2 separate regions of the Homo sapiens genome follow, and region 2 is linked to region 1. Evidence: promoter capture Hi-C in 16 types of primary human blood cells and fetal thymus (Javierre and others, 2016). All regions are on one chromosome and are shown on one strand. The core of a region is centred on a gene start or on the middle of the fragment in contact, and the rest is flanking DNA. Distances in the headings are between cores, read along the strand shown. Region 1 holds the start of SMAP1 (small ArfGAP 1). Region 2 has its middle 16 kb from the start of LMBRD1.

The links. Contacts are between HindIII fragments. The CHiCAGO score rates a contact against its expected background, and 5 or more counts as called.
Region 2: a fragment that was not itself captured here is called in contact with the fragment with the promoter of SMAP1 in region 1 in 1 of 17 cell types (activated CD4 T cells); the score reaches 5.6 in activated CD4 T cells.

Annotation. Positions count from the first base shown.
Region 1 is chr6:70,664,033-70,670,818 of GRCh38, reverse strand. SMAP1 (small ArfGAP 1) reads right to left here and starts at 2,936. Exons shown (of 11, transcript NM_001044305.3): 1 at 2,678-2,936. The coding sequence starts at 2,795. It also overlaps the pseudogene SLC25A6P6. RefSeq lists silencers at 2,195-2,254, 2,375-2,604, 2,755-3,154. The HindIII fragment of the contact is 2,958 bases long and covers 2,729-5,686 here.
Region 2 is chr6:69,810,028-69,816,813 of GRCh38, reverse strand. No RefSeq gene overlaps it. Among named protein-coding and RNA genes, the nearest start is that of LMBRD1, 16 kb to the right of the region's middle. RefSeq lists enhancers at 309-378, 489-808. The HindIII fragment of the contact is 3,272 bases long and covers 1,213-4,484 here.

The DNA of each region.
Region 1 (6,786 bases), core at 1,687-4,186:
TATGATAAGGCAAGATAATACAGGCACCTCAAATCCTAAGCTTTAGTTTTGGTACATATTCTCAAAGATCAGTGGAAGAAGCTTCTTTGAAAGAAAGAAAATTGAGTTAACTAGGAAATAACTTTGAAATACAGTACATGAAAAGTTTGATGCAATTTACTAGACAGTGAAGAAAACATCAATACATACACAGAATGAAACTTCTTAGTAACTGAGCTGTAGAGTAAGACCTTTAACATATCTTTTAAAAGTACTATATTTATTATGTCATCCTAGCATATAGATCCAAAATCATGTAACAAGCCAAGAATTCTACTAAAAAAGCCTCCATAATGTACTTCAACCTTACCAAATACTCAAAAACTGTGAAAATATATTTACATCAATTGCTCTATCATGTCGAATTTTTCAATTATTACAACCATGAAATCAAGTCTAATTAAATCAATAAGTGGCCTTACCTGTGATTTTTTGCCTGAAAGATCAAGATAAAACAATGAAATTATTTACAAGATCATTTTAATATTCTTCTAGATTTAGTAGCAACAAGAAAAAAATAATCCTTGTAAATTATACTGTGGAGTTCATGCCCTTCAAGCTGCACCCTTGTACTCTTGATACCATTCTCTTCTCTCCCACTTCCTTCACTTCTCAAAACAAGTAAACCAACAAAAGGCCAGACAAAACCAAAATACAAAAGACATTCATTCAATATATATCTACTGATTTCCGTGGCAATACAAACACTGAGCAAAACGAATACTTCCTATTCTTCAGGTCCAAAGAAGTAAAACTTTTGATCCTAATTTAAGAAGTACATGATTCTCTTCTCCCCACCTCAAAAGAGTAAATAAAAAAAAAAAAAGTTAACATGGTTAATAATGGCTTTTAAAAATCTGTATTATTTTAGAAAGCATTAGTGAAAATCTGATTTTATAAAGTACTTTTTTGGAGACAGAAATTTGAACAAAAATTAAATTATTTTTAATAAAGTCTGTAGATGAAGGAAGGTTAATTCTGAAACTGTTACTATTCGACTTTTAATGAACAGATTTAATATTTACCAGCATCTCTACTTAACCATGTTATTACTCAAAATGACAAAATGTGTACTATTTAGCTTCAGCTTCTTTCTTCTTCTTGGCCTTTTAAAGGACCATTTTTCAGTGTTTTGCTAGTGCAGTCAATGAGCAAGCAACTGAGCCTAAACACAGTGCAGAACTCCCAAATAACCACACACAATCAAGTTACTAGGAAAACAAGTATTACAAGAACCAGGCACGGACTTTGTAAAAACTCATCACCTGAAAAGGTTACATAGGATAAATATAATCTTGACTCAATCAAGTTACTATATTGAAAAGTGCTTCATAAAAATAATCTAGTTACAGTATTCCCGCATGATTCTTCTAGTAATTCAGTACCTGTTACGACAGTGAAGTAACCTGCTGATGCTGTGTGGCTCAGTCTAGTCAAATATTATCAGCCTACTGAAATGTGACTCATTTATATAGTATTGAGATAGAACAGTAAAGCTTCAGGAAAAGTCTAAGTCAAATAACACAGAAATCTTAAAGGACATTCCCCAAAGAGACTGTCTCCTGCTTTAGAGAACTACCCTATTTCTCACCCAATAACGAAATAAACCAATTAAAAATATACACGATCTTTTCTTAACTACACAAGACATTTCTTTAAAAAAAAAAGAAATATTTCCCTTGAGATTACTTACAAGACATTAAACATAAATCAGATCTCCAAACACAAAACATAGCAGCTAAAAATAGTATATCTGTTTCAAAGGCTGAGGCAGAAGCCCTCCAACCGAAAAAACTAAAATTAGGTTTTTTCCATCTCTAGATCTTTAAAATGAACCTTCAGCATTTATGAGGTACACAAATCAGTGTCCACATATTCTCCCAAACTAGCTGGTCAGAGAAAACCTAATTACTAAAATCTTCAGAAATACAAACCCACCGTCCTCCAAGAGACTCATGTAATGAAATTCCTCTTCATTCTGGCTAATAACCAGACTAAAAAACAATACTACTACTAATAAAGACCTTTCTCCAATTAATTTATTCCGTAAAACTCAAACCCACCGAAAAAGACCACCATACTCTTTTTCAGGAAGCAGAGATAAAAGCCTTGTACAAAAGCTGTCAGGTGGGCAGGCAGGTAGGGCTCCATCTAGGAGACCAAGAATCCGAGCCCGGAGTGGGAGGACGTGGTCACACCGGAGGGTAGAGGAGGGGATCCAGACCTAAGCGCGGCCCCACCCACAGAGATAGCTATGAGCAGAGCTAGGAGGGCAACTCTCTAACCCTAAGCTCTGCCCAGACCCGTGCCCGGTTCCGCGCTCCCAGCCTCGCTCCTACCCCCAGCCCTGTGGAGGGTCCGAGCATCGCTACCCTGGCACCTGCTCAAACCCGTGTCTGGGAGGAGGGGAGGCTGGGGCCACTGACAGGGCCTGCGGGCCTGACCTCGCCGCCGCCTCTGGCGGACTTGAGGGTCGACAGGAGCCCCGCGCCCGCCCGCTCAGCCACCCGCCCTCCAGTCAGGGCAGGAGCCGGCCAGCGAAGCCGAGGCGTCCGCTCGGGCCCCGAGCGCCGCAGCGGCGGGAAGGTCACCGGTCGCAAGAGGCCCCGACCGTGGGCAGCGACGACGTCCAAGCTACCTTTGGCCTCGCAGTCGGCGCAGTACTTGTTGTCCTCCTCCCTCAGAAGCTTGGATAGGATGAGCTGGTGCTGCTCGTTCAGCTTCTGAGCCTTCTCCCGACAGGAGCGCGTCGCCATCTCGGCAGCGGGGCGGGGAGCCTGGGGCAGCTACGGCGGCGGCGGACGCTGGCTGGAGCCGGGCAGAGTGAACGCACCTGGCGCCGCCGGGACCGCGGGCGGACTCAGCCCAGGAAGCGGCAGCGGCAGCTGGAACGGGAGGAGGGGCGGCGGCGGCGGTGGCGGTGGTAGCGCCGACGTGTCCCGCCTCCTTGACCGGCCTGCCGGCACGCACCACCCTAGCCGGCGAGGGGAGGGGGAGGGGGACTGGGTCGCGCCGAGGCTTCCGGGTGGCGCGGAGGAAGGAACCCGGGCGCCGAGCGCGCTGCGCATGCGCCGAACCTACGGGGCCCGGGCTGCCGAGTCTTTTTGCAAAAAGGCCTTCTGCCCAAGGTGATTCCCGAAAGGTAGCTGGCACTGCCTCATACGAGCTTTCCCCCCTTTTGAGATGTGATGGTCCGCAAGGGCCTCTAGTAAAACCCAGTAATGGAAGACCTTTTACAAGAAGCCTACTTTGACTTGCCCATTTGCCTTTGCTCTTGCTGGCACAACATTGGAAATGCAGAAATAACTAGCGACTGGGTGGGTTCATTTACTCATTCGAGGTTTATTCGCCTGCAGTTTAGAAGCTGGAGACACGGATGGAAGAAAAGAGGAAAAACGGTCTCTTACATTTTAAGGGCGAGAAATAATCTAGTAGTGACATGTATTAGGGGATAACATTTCATTGAGTGATTACTCTGTTAAACGAACTGTTAGCTCATTTAACCCTTTCCCCAACCTTATGATATTGTTATCCTCATTACACAGGGGAGGAAAGTGAGGCATAGAGGAGTTAAGTAACCTGACCAGATTACAGAACTACTAGTGGAGGAGTTGAGATTTAAATCCAAAGCAGTCTGGCTCCAGAGTCTGAAAGACCTGGCAGTAAGCCCTTCCATAAGGGGGAAAGTGTGACCAGGAACCCAAGTACTAGGCGGTGATACTTTAACAAGAAGCTGTGTAAATAGTGATCCTTAATGCAAGAGAAAGAGAACTAAAGAAAACACTTTTCATTGGAACCCAGACCCTAATCCAGGCTCATGAAGTTTGAACTCCGGGTGACGCAGTTTCGATGATTTGGCATGTTGTATATTATGAGGAAGTTCTAATATGGGGCTTATGCAAGCCAAATAAACACAGTCCTTGCCTGCGATGAAGCAGATGCTAAGAAAGGCAATGAGCAAGAGTCGGTCTTACACTTCTTAGTAAGGCCAATTTCTAGCCCCTGTCCCTGCATAAAAGTGACCCTCATTGCTACCTAGCCCTGTTCTTGGCACAGGGGCTCAAAAATGTTTCTGGAATTAAATTGAATGGATATGGCAATGAAGATGCTCAGTAATTAAACAAATTAGAGCTTATACTACATAGCTCTGACAAATAACTACTAGGGAGATATTGGTGAGTTCCAATGAACAGAAAAAAACATTATGTGGGAGGTAGAACTTACGAGCCTTGTCCTGAAGATACGCTGGATTTAGATGGGGACTGGGGAGGGAGATATTAAGAAAGAGCAGCTTGCACAAAAGCATGAAGACCTGAAGTACCTTGGAAAACAGACTGGAACAAAAGGTACTACTTTTGAGATAAGGCTGCATAAGTAAACTATGATAGGGTTATGGAAGACTTGGGAAGCCAGACAAAGTAGTCTGGCCTTGATGCAAATTGACAGTAGAAAACCTGTAGATTTTTGCCAGGCACAGTGGCTCACGCCTGTAATCCCAGCACTTTGGGAGGCCGAGGCAGGCGGATCACCTGAGGTGGGGAGTTCGAGACCATCCTGACCAACATGGAGAAACCCTGTCTCTACTGATAATACAAAATTAGCCGGGTGTAGTGGCGCATGCCTGTTTAATCCCAGCTACTCAGGAGACTGAGGCAGGAGAATCGCTTGAACCCGGGAGGCAGAGGTTGCAGTGAGCGGAGATCAGGCCATTGCACTCCAGCCTGGGCAACAAGAGCAAAACTCCTTCCCCACCCACCCCCCCCCCAAAAAAAGAAAAAGAAAACCTGTAGATTCTTCAAGTAGGATAATAGCATAATAAAAAGGATCTTTTGGGAAAGTTAGTCCTGCAGTAACCAGTAAACAAACACCATTTTTTGAGTACCTCTCCTCCCTACAAAAATTCTGTTCAGCACTGTGAGGACTCAGAAAAACAGAATACAGGTTTACCACCAAAAAACAACCTTCAGGATGGATTGAAGGGTCACAGCAATGTCCAGTACAAATACTTGCGTGCCACACGTATAACTTTAAATAATGCAGTAGCCACATTTAAAAACAGAAAAAGAAACATAAAATACATTTTACTAATACATTTGATTTAACTCAATGTATCCAAAATATTTTTGAGATGTAATATAAAACATGGCATATTTTCTTTCCATTCTTGTTTTCATATTCTCTTCAAAATGCTGTATAACACAGCTCATTTCATTTTGGAGTGGCTGAATTTATTTTTTAATAAAGAAATTATCAAAAAATTGAGCCTAGGAGTTCGAGACCCTGCTGGTCCATGGGGTCTCACTATGTGGGCCAGCATGGTCTTGAACTCCTAGCCTCAAGCTATCCTCCCACCTTGGCCTCCCAAAGTGCTGGGATTACAGGTGTGAGGCACTGCGCCCAGCCTGGAGTAGATGAATTTCAAATGTTCAGCAGCCACATGTGACTAGTGGATACATTATTGAATAGTGTGGTTCTAGATGGTCAGCTTAGAGGCTATTAAAATATAAATTTGAGTTGATTGTATTTTAAGACTATAGTAGGAAGAAAGAGACTGGTCCCCAAAACATCCTGGGAAGAAAACAACATTGCATTTATTCACCAGTATTTATCAAACAACTTCTATCTAGTACACTAATAATCAGAAGCTTACAGTCTACTATGAGCTACAAATATGTAAATAGAAAAGGACTACACTGTAAAGTTTATAGCAATTATAAAGTGTTCTCGGAGCAAAAGGAACAGAACATCCAGTAGCCTGGGAAAATCTGGGAAAGTTTCACGGAGGAGGTGATGCTTAAACTTGGCTTTTAACAGATGGGGGAATTTTTCAAGTGAATGGGGGTGGAGCGGAGAGAAAGGAATTGCTTTAAAAAACACGTATGGACTTCTGAAAGTTCAGGGTTATATGCTAGACATAGTGAGGATATGAGGCCCAAGAAACCTAGAATGTGTTTGGAGAACATGAAGGTAGGAAAGGAAACAAGATGGAGAGGTAGATTGCCACCAGAGGGTTAAGAGCTTTGTAGCCAAGCAACAGAGTTTGAACCTCATGGGTTTATAGAACCAATAGAAGCTTTTACACGGAAAAATGGCTTGATAAGCTTTCTTCTCAGTAACTCTCCATACAGTGGCAGTATGGAGAACATGGTGGGGAAAAACTTATCAAGGGAACAGATTACAGGCCTGTCTCAATAATAGTCCAAAGAAGATATGATGAAGGCCTATTTTAAGCAAGTAGCGTAGGGTTTGGGAGAGACAGAATCAAATGATGGTTTAAAATTAGAAGCAGCAAGATTTGGCAGCTGACTGTATGTGGAGGGCAAGAGAAAGAAGGTGAGAATAACATCAAGCTTTCTAAGTTGGGAGAAAGGTAAATGGTAATGCCGTTAACCCAGATCAAGAATAGAAGAGGTAGGCCTCTAGGTCCAGCAGTCACAGGGCTGAGCCAGCAGCACTAATCCTCCCAGTTCTCCATGTGCTCAGCTTCCTGCTCTGCAACCATGACACAACAGGCGATCTCCTTTGCCAAGGACCATCTGGCTGGTGGCATTGCTGCTGCTGTCGCCAAGATAGTTGTGGCCCTGATTGAGCAGGTGAAGCTGCTGTAGCAGATGCAAGGCGCTAGGAAGCAGGTGACAGCTGACAGCAGTGCACAGGAATTGTGGACTACTTTCTTAAGCAAGCCCTCAACATCACATTCAAGGATAAGCAGACACAGCTATTCCTGGGAGTATGGATGAACACACA
Region 2 (6,786 bases), core at 1,599-4,098, 850 kb after region 1:
GAAAAGGCAACAGAAAGACGGAAGCAGTGATGGGGGCACTGTTAAGCAGGAAGTGGTGCTTAGTGTGAAAAGCCAGCCTGTCTGTCTGTCAGGAAAGTTTTCTGGGAAGGAACCAGAGAGAGGGCAGTGAGAATTTTTTTCTCATCTGCAAGGCGGATCCAGGAGACAAGCTTTTAACTTTGTGGGGGCTCCTCCTCAAGAAAAAGAATGGAAAATTATGAATACAAAGTTAGACTCAAAAGTAAACTTTAATTTAGAATGAGAAAAACAGATTAGAAAATTTTAACAGATGCCGAATACCACAGACATCACAAAATCTAGAAAATAGCCTTCATTTTGGCTCCACACTTTCAAAAATAGACCTCTGGTCTTGCCTTTGTGTCATAGTGCACATCAAATTGGAATCATGGGCAATAAGAATATTCCTGAAAGCCATTGCTACACCTGGATGCCTAGCAATAATTTAACTAAACATGAGAGTAACTCCATGTAAATACATCCCACTCAACCTAAACTAAATGCATCCCTAACCCTACTTAACCTGAGCTGGAGCCTCAGAATGCCTGCAGCCACTCCAGTGATACTCATATGAGGCAAAATGTGAAAGTGAAAATGGAAAGAGACAGTGGTCTCAACAGACTGAAGCAAAAATACATTACTTACAAAAATTTACAAAAAAACCATAGGTCCATGGGAACACATTGCTAGGCCTTTTTTTCCACAGGACCATGGAAAACACCTGTGCAAGTGGATCATTGGCGCTGAAGCTCCATTAACATGATGGTAAATCTGCCCCTGCAGACATGTGAGAGAATATGAGAGTGAGGTCTAAAGAGAACTTAAAAGAAGTATAATTACTCTAATTACCCTTTGGTAATTTCTCATGGGCGTGAATCAAATCTCCCTTGCTTCTAATTATATTTTTATGCCCAACTGGTGTTTCTTTGAGTGTGAGTCCATGAGACTGGATTACAGGTAGCTCCAGAAACGTATAAGTTACAAGGTAATTAGGTAATAGTAAACAGATGATTGATTTGGGTACATGGTAATGGTAAAGACTGAATGGTTTTCAAGAAACTTGTGAAAACTTGTATTTGCACATCAGGAAAAAAAAAAAAATCTGGCCTGAAGAAAGATGAGTTGTAATCATCAGAAATGATGGGACAACTCTCTATCTTTCACGAAGCTCCATCTTCCCTTGAAAATTAAGCTTATTCTAGTACTGGTCAGATGTTAATTGACATACAGACTTAGCAAAGAAAAAGCTGTATGTGTGTGTGTGTGTGTGTGTGTGTGTGTGTGTGTGTGTGTGAGTTTGCTTAAAAGATATAAAAAGGAAATTTCTTGAGAGTTTTCCGTTGACAGATCAAAGTGAGTGACTGAAGCATAAGTCTCAGATCATTGATGTTTATTGAGCCAGCCTGAGGGTTCACCTGGTTAAAATGCAAGTCACAGATGCATTCTGTGATTGTGTTTTCCAAAGAGGTTCTCAGGAAGTTTAGTATTTACATATTTTCCTTTAAGAAAAGGGGCGGGCAGGTAGCAGTGAAATTAATGATTACATACTTGTAAGGTTTTTAGTTAGTGCCTAATAAATCTACATTTTACATAAGATAAGGTGAACATGTGAAGAAAAAGGGAATAGAGGAAGCAGACATCTCAGGCAAGGGTAAAAGAACAATTGATTTCATCTTGTCTTTGTTCTGTACCAGGAAAGATAAGCTAGTGATCAACATTATCAGTGTGGAGTCTTTTGAAAGGGCTAGTTTCTGTTTAGCCCTCAGAGTAGAAAGCCTAATGGTGGTTAGCAAGGGAGGGGGTTATAATGAGGCATGTCTGAACATCCATCCTGTCATGACTGTAAATTCAGCTTCCAAGATTTCTCTCGATTCCCCTTGGCCAAGAGAGATGTCCGTTCAGTCAGTTGGGGGCTTAGAATTTTTTATTTTTATTTCTCACTATCAAATTTAACTACCCAATCTGCATTCCATTTCAATATGAGAAAAGGCTTCTGTGAAATGACAATCCATCTAGAAAGTATGCATGTGGACATATGTTTATGTATTGAAAAAGTAATTTTAAAAGTCAAAATTTGATATCTTATTGGTGCTAGATTTTTTTTTCTAAGTTCTCATTTGTAGATATAGCATTGGCTTTTTATTTGGTACAATTCTTAAGCTGTATCAGCAAAAGGTTATCTATATGTGATGCTAAAAAATGAAATAGATACAGAGCCAACATTACTGAAGTCATTTGGTCTATCAATATTTGATTAAGTACATAACAGAGTAAAATAAAACAACCCAAAATTTAAATGAATAAACCTTCATTTCAAAATTAAATGGAAATACTAAAGGCCTATACAAATTTTGACATTGTTCCTTCTTGTTATTCAGGGCTAAACCTAGCCAGCAGTATTTTTTATAACATCAATTTATTCATATTTTTAAAATTAGAAACATCCTTTTAATAGGAAAGCTGTATTTTAATATAAAGCTGAAACATTATATACTTAGTTATTCTGCAAATAATTAGAATCTTTTTTGAACTATAGCTATCACTGGCTGTCTTCATTTTGCACAATACAAAATGAACAATAGACTTTAATTAAAACAAGGATATTCGGCCTTTTCTTATTTAGAAATATCAGTTTCTCATTAACTACTCAAAAATTGAAATAGCATTGTTTTTCCACTATTGCTAGAACATGAAGTATCTGTGAAAAACGCCCTCTTTGTCTTCACCAGCAGTCCTGTTTTCCTTGGTATTATTCTATTTAAACAAGTCTTTCCCCTTCTGCTGAGTGTCTTCCATTTGCTCCTCCAGATACACGTTCCATCCTTCTCCACTCTGCTCTGTGCCCCAGGAGGCTGATCATTATGTTTGCAATAAATAGGCTCCCTTGCCTTCTGTTTTCCTGTTAAGTACATTCAAAAAGAGTAACAGAGTATTTATCCCCTGGCTCCCTTCTTGAGGGACTGTAGGTGACAATGGCTACTAGAAAGCTCTTTCCTAAGTGTATAGGTCTTTTCAGATTCCAGTAACCTCCTTCTGAGACAGGGAGTGACCTTTCAGTGGTGGTAATGATTTCCTGTTTTGACAACTCTAGGGTTAGCTTCCCTTTTTCCTGCTCACATCTTTGTAAATAGTCCAATCATTGAACTCTTCTTCTGAATCACTTTTAGATGATTAAAAGTACACTTTTAGATGTACTACCCTCTGTTTCTTGCCAGAATCCTGACTGATTGACTCCTCCTTTTTTTCTGACTACCTCATGTCTTCGGAGTTCAAGTTGTTAAAAAAAAATGATCTGATAATCAAACTTAAATTCATGTGTTCAGTGAGACAAAGCAAGAACCTTTCTTAGGGGGCTGCTGCCTGCTCCCCTTGCCAAACATGGAAATAAAGAAAAATATTGAATTCCTTTAAGGGAACTTCCAGACACCTGGTTAGCCCTAAGAAGTAAATGAGCAACTTGATAAGCAAGAAGGCAAGAGTAGCTTAAAACTATAGCCAAGGGAATTAGAGTTCTGAGATGTTTGGTTTCCTTGTAACTGCTCAACGGATTCACCTTGCCCACTGCTTAGACAGAGACGATTTATGAAGAGAGGGGAACTGCAAGGCAGAACGACTAAGTCACACAGAGCCATCTGTGCAGGAGACTGGAGTTTTATTATTACTCAAATCAAATATCCTTGAGCATTTGAGGATCAGAGTTTTTAAAGATAATTTGGCAGGTAGGGGCTTGAGAAGTGGGGAGTGCTGATTGGTCAGGTTGGAGATGGAACCATAGGGGGTCGAAGTTGACTTTTTCTTGCTGTTTTCTGTTCATCTGGGTGAGATGGTAGAACTGGTTGAGCCAGATTACTGGTCTGGGTGGTGTCTGCTGATCCATCCAGTGCAGATTCTGCAAAATATCTCAAGCACTGATCTTAGGTTTGCAATAGTGATGTTATCCCCAGCAACTTGGAGCCAGAGGCTGCATGCCCCTAAACTGTAATTTCTAATCTTGTAGCTAATTTGTTAGTCCTGCAAAGGCAGACTGGTACCCAGGCAAGGAAGGGGTCTTTTCAGGAAAGGTCTATTATCAATTTTGTTTCAGAATCAAGCCATGAACTGAATTCCTTCTCAAAATTAGTTTGGCCTATCCTCAGGAATGAAGAAGGACAGCTTAAAGATTAGGAGCCAGATGGAATCAGTTAGGTGTGATTTCTGTCACTGTCATAATTTCCTCAGTTATAATTTTGCAAAGGCGGTTTCACCCTGTAGAAACTAAAGAGAACATCAGAATATATGTCCCTGAGTTGTTTCTTAGAAGCTGGTACCCCCACCAAATGGATTCCCTGGCATGTAGACCTCAAATAAGAGGTAATTGAGGACTGAACTCTTGCTTTAAATTTCTTCCTGAGGGGCATGGAGGAAGTCACGCCCACAGGCCAGACTTAATATTTCTTTCTTCTGATCCCAAATTTTTAAACAAAGCTTCTCTTCTTTAACCAATTGCAAGTCAGAAAATCTTTGAAATCCAGTTATGACCTGGAAGCACCCTGCCCCACCTGACTCTGCTTCCACCTTTGTAGGCCAAACCAATGTATCACCTCTATGTGTTGATTTATAGTTTTGCCTATAACTTCTGCTTTCCTGAAATTTACCTCTGCCTTTAAACACCCTTGCTTGCAAGCCATCTGGAAGTTTGGGTCTTACATTTCAGCTGCCCAATTATCCTTGCTTGGTACCCTACTAATAAAGGCCCTCCTTTCTCCTGCTGCAAAGCAACCTCGGTATGAATATTTGGCCTTACTGCACTGGGCAATGGGACCCCTGTTTGGTTTAGTAACATAAGAGTGGCCCACGCCTTTTCTACGTTTCTTAGAAATGAGTTCAAATCTGAGTCACTTCTGCAGAAATCACCATTGACCTTATCCTCTCTATTTAACTTTTTCATTATTCCACCCCTTTTTAGTCAAGCTTCCTGAAAGAATATTTTACATTCATGACCTCCGTTTTCCTAATTCTCCTTCATTCCTCTAAGCCAGTGCAACTTGTCTGCTTCCTATCCACTCCAGTGGAATTATTCTAGAAAATTCGTTAATGACCCCCCCACTCATGTTGCCATACTCGGTGGGCACTTGCTAGTCCTCTCACTATATTTGGTATTGACAGCTACTCATTAGTTTTAAAAAGTATCTTCTCTCTTTGTTTATATGATGTATTCTGATTATTAGTTCTAACCACTCTTTTCCTTTTATTCTCTCCTTAAAGTTTGCTGTTTTTTTAGGGTTGTCTATTTAGCTGACTATTATTCTCACTTCTACCAATTTTTCCTGGGAATTTTTTGCATTTTCATTGCTTCAGCTTTTACTTGAGTATAGATGACTCATACCTCTGTGGCAGGTCCCTTGGCTGAGTTTCCCGCCTATACATTCTATGAACTAGAGCTATCCGTGTTCCTCAGGCACCTCAAATCCAAGGTACCAAATAAAATCTACTACCTTGTTTCCTTCACTCTAAGGTGACATTGACTGTAAGATGCACCATCATTTTATAAATGATGAAGAACAAAATATACCAGTTATAGTGGTAAGATCCCATCAATTTAAAGGTGAGTCCTAACATCAGAGATGTTAAAATGTAAAGGAGAAAAGTGCATCTTAGAATCTATGAAATACAGTTTATTTCTGTCATTCCTCACCCTTAATCTTCTCTTCTTCGTATGTTCCCTGTCTTCATTAGTGGCATCATCATTCTCCACATCTCTCAATTTACAATTCTGAAAAGCATCTCTAATGTTAACTCGGCTTGGCTATAATAATCAACTATTCAAATGCTATGTGTTGCCGTGAAGGTATTTTGTAGACATGATAAATATCTACAATCAGTTGACTAAGTACAGTTGACCCCTGAATAAGTTAGGGGTTAGGGATGCTGAATCCCCATGCACTTGAAAATCTGCCTATAACTTTTGACTCTCCAAAAACTTAACTAGTAATAGCCTTCTATTGACTGGAATCCTTACCAATAACATAAATAGTTGATTAACATATATTTTGCATGTTGTATTTATTATATATTGCATTCTTCCAATAATGAAAACTAGAGAAAAGAAAATATTATTAAGAAAATTATGGTTGGGCATGGTGGCTCATGCCTGTAATCCCAGCACTTTGGGAGGCCGAGGTGGGCGGATAACCTGAGGTCAGGAGTTCGGGACCAGGCTGGCCAACATGGAGAAACCCCGTCTCTATTAAAAATACAAAAATTAGCCAGGCGTAGTGGAAGGTGCCTGTAATCCCAGCTACTCAGAAGGCTGAGGCAGAAGAATCGCTTGAACCCGGGAAGCAGAGGTTGCAGTTAGCCGAGGTTGTGCCACTGCACTCCAGCCTGGGTGACAGAGTGAGACTTTGTCTCAAAACAAAAAAATAAATAAATAAAAAAGAAAATAAAGTCATAAGGAAGAGAAAATATATTTACTATTAATTAAATGAAAATGGATTGTCAAAAAGGTCTTCATCCTAACTGTCATCATGTTGAGTGGGCTGAAGAGGAGAGAAAGGAGGGGTTGGTCTTGCTGTCTCAGGGTTGGTAGAGGCAGGAGAAAATCTGCACATAAGTAGAATTGCACAGTTCAAATCTGTGTTGTTCAAGGGCCAACTGTAAATAAAATTATTCTCAATGATCCCGTGGGTCAGAGTCAATCAATTGAAGGGACTTATGGCAGATTGCAATTTCCCTCAGAAAGAAGAAATTTTACCAATGACTGTCAGTGTCAGCTCCTGCCTGAGAGTT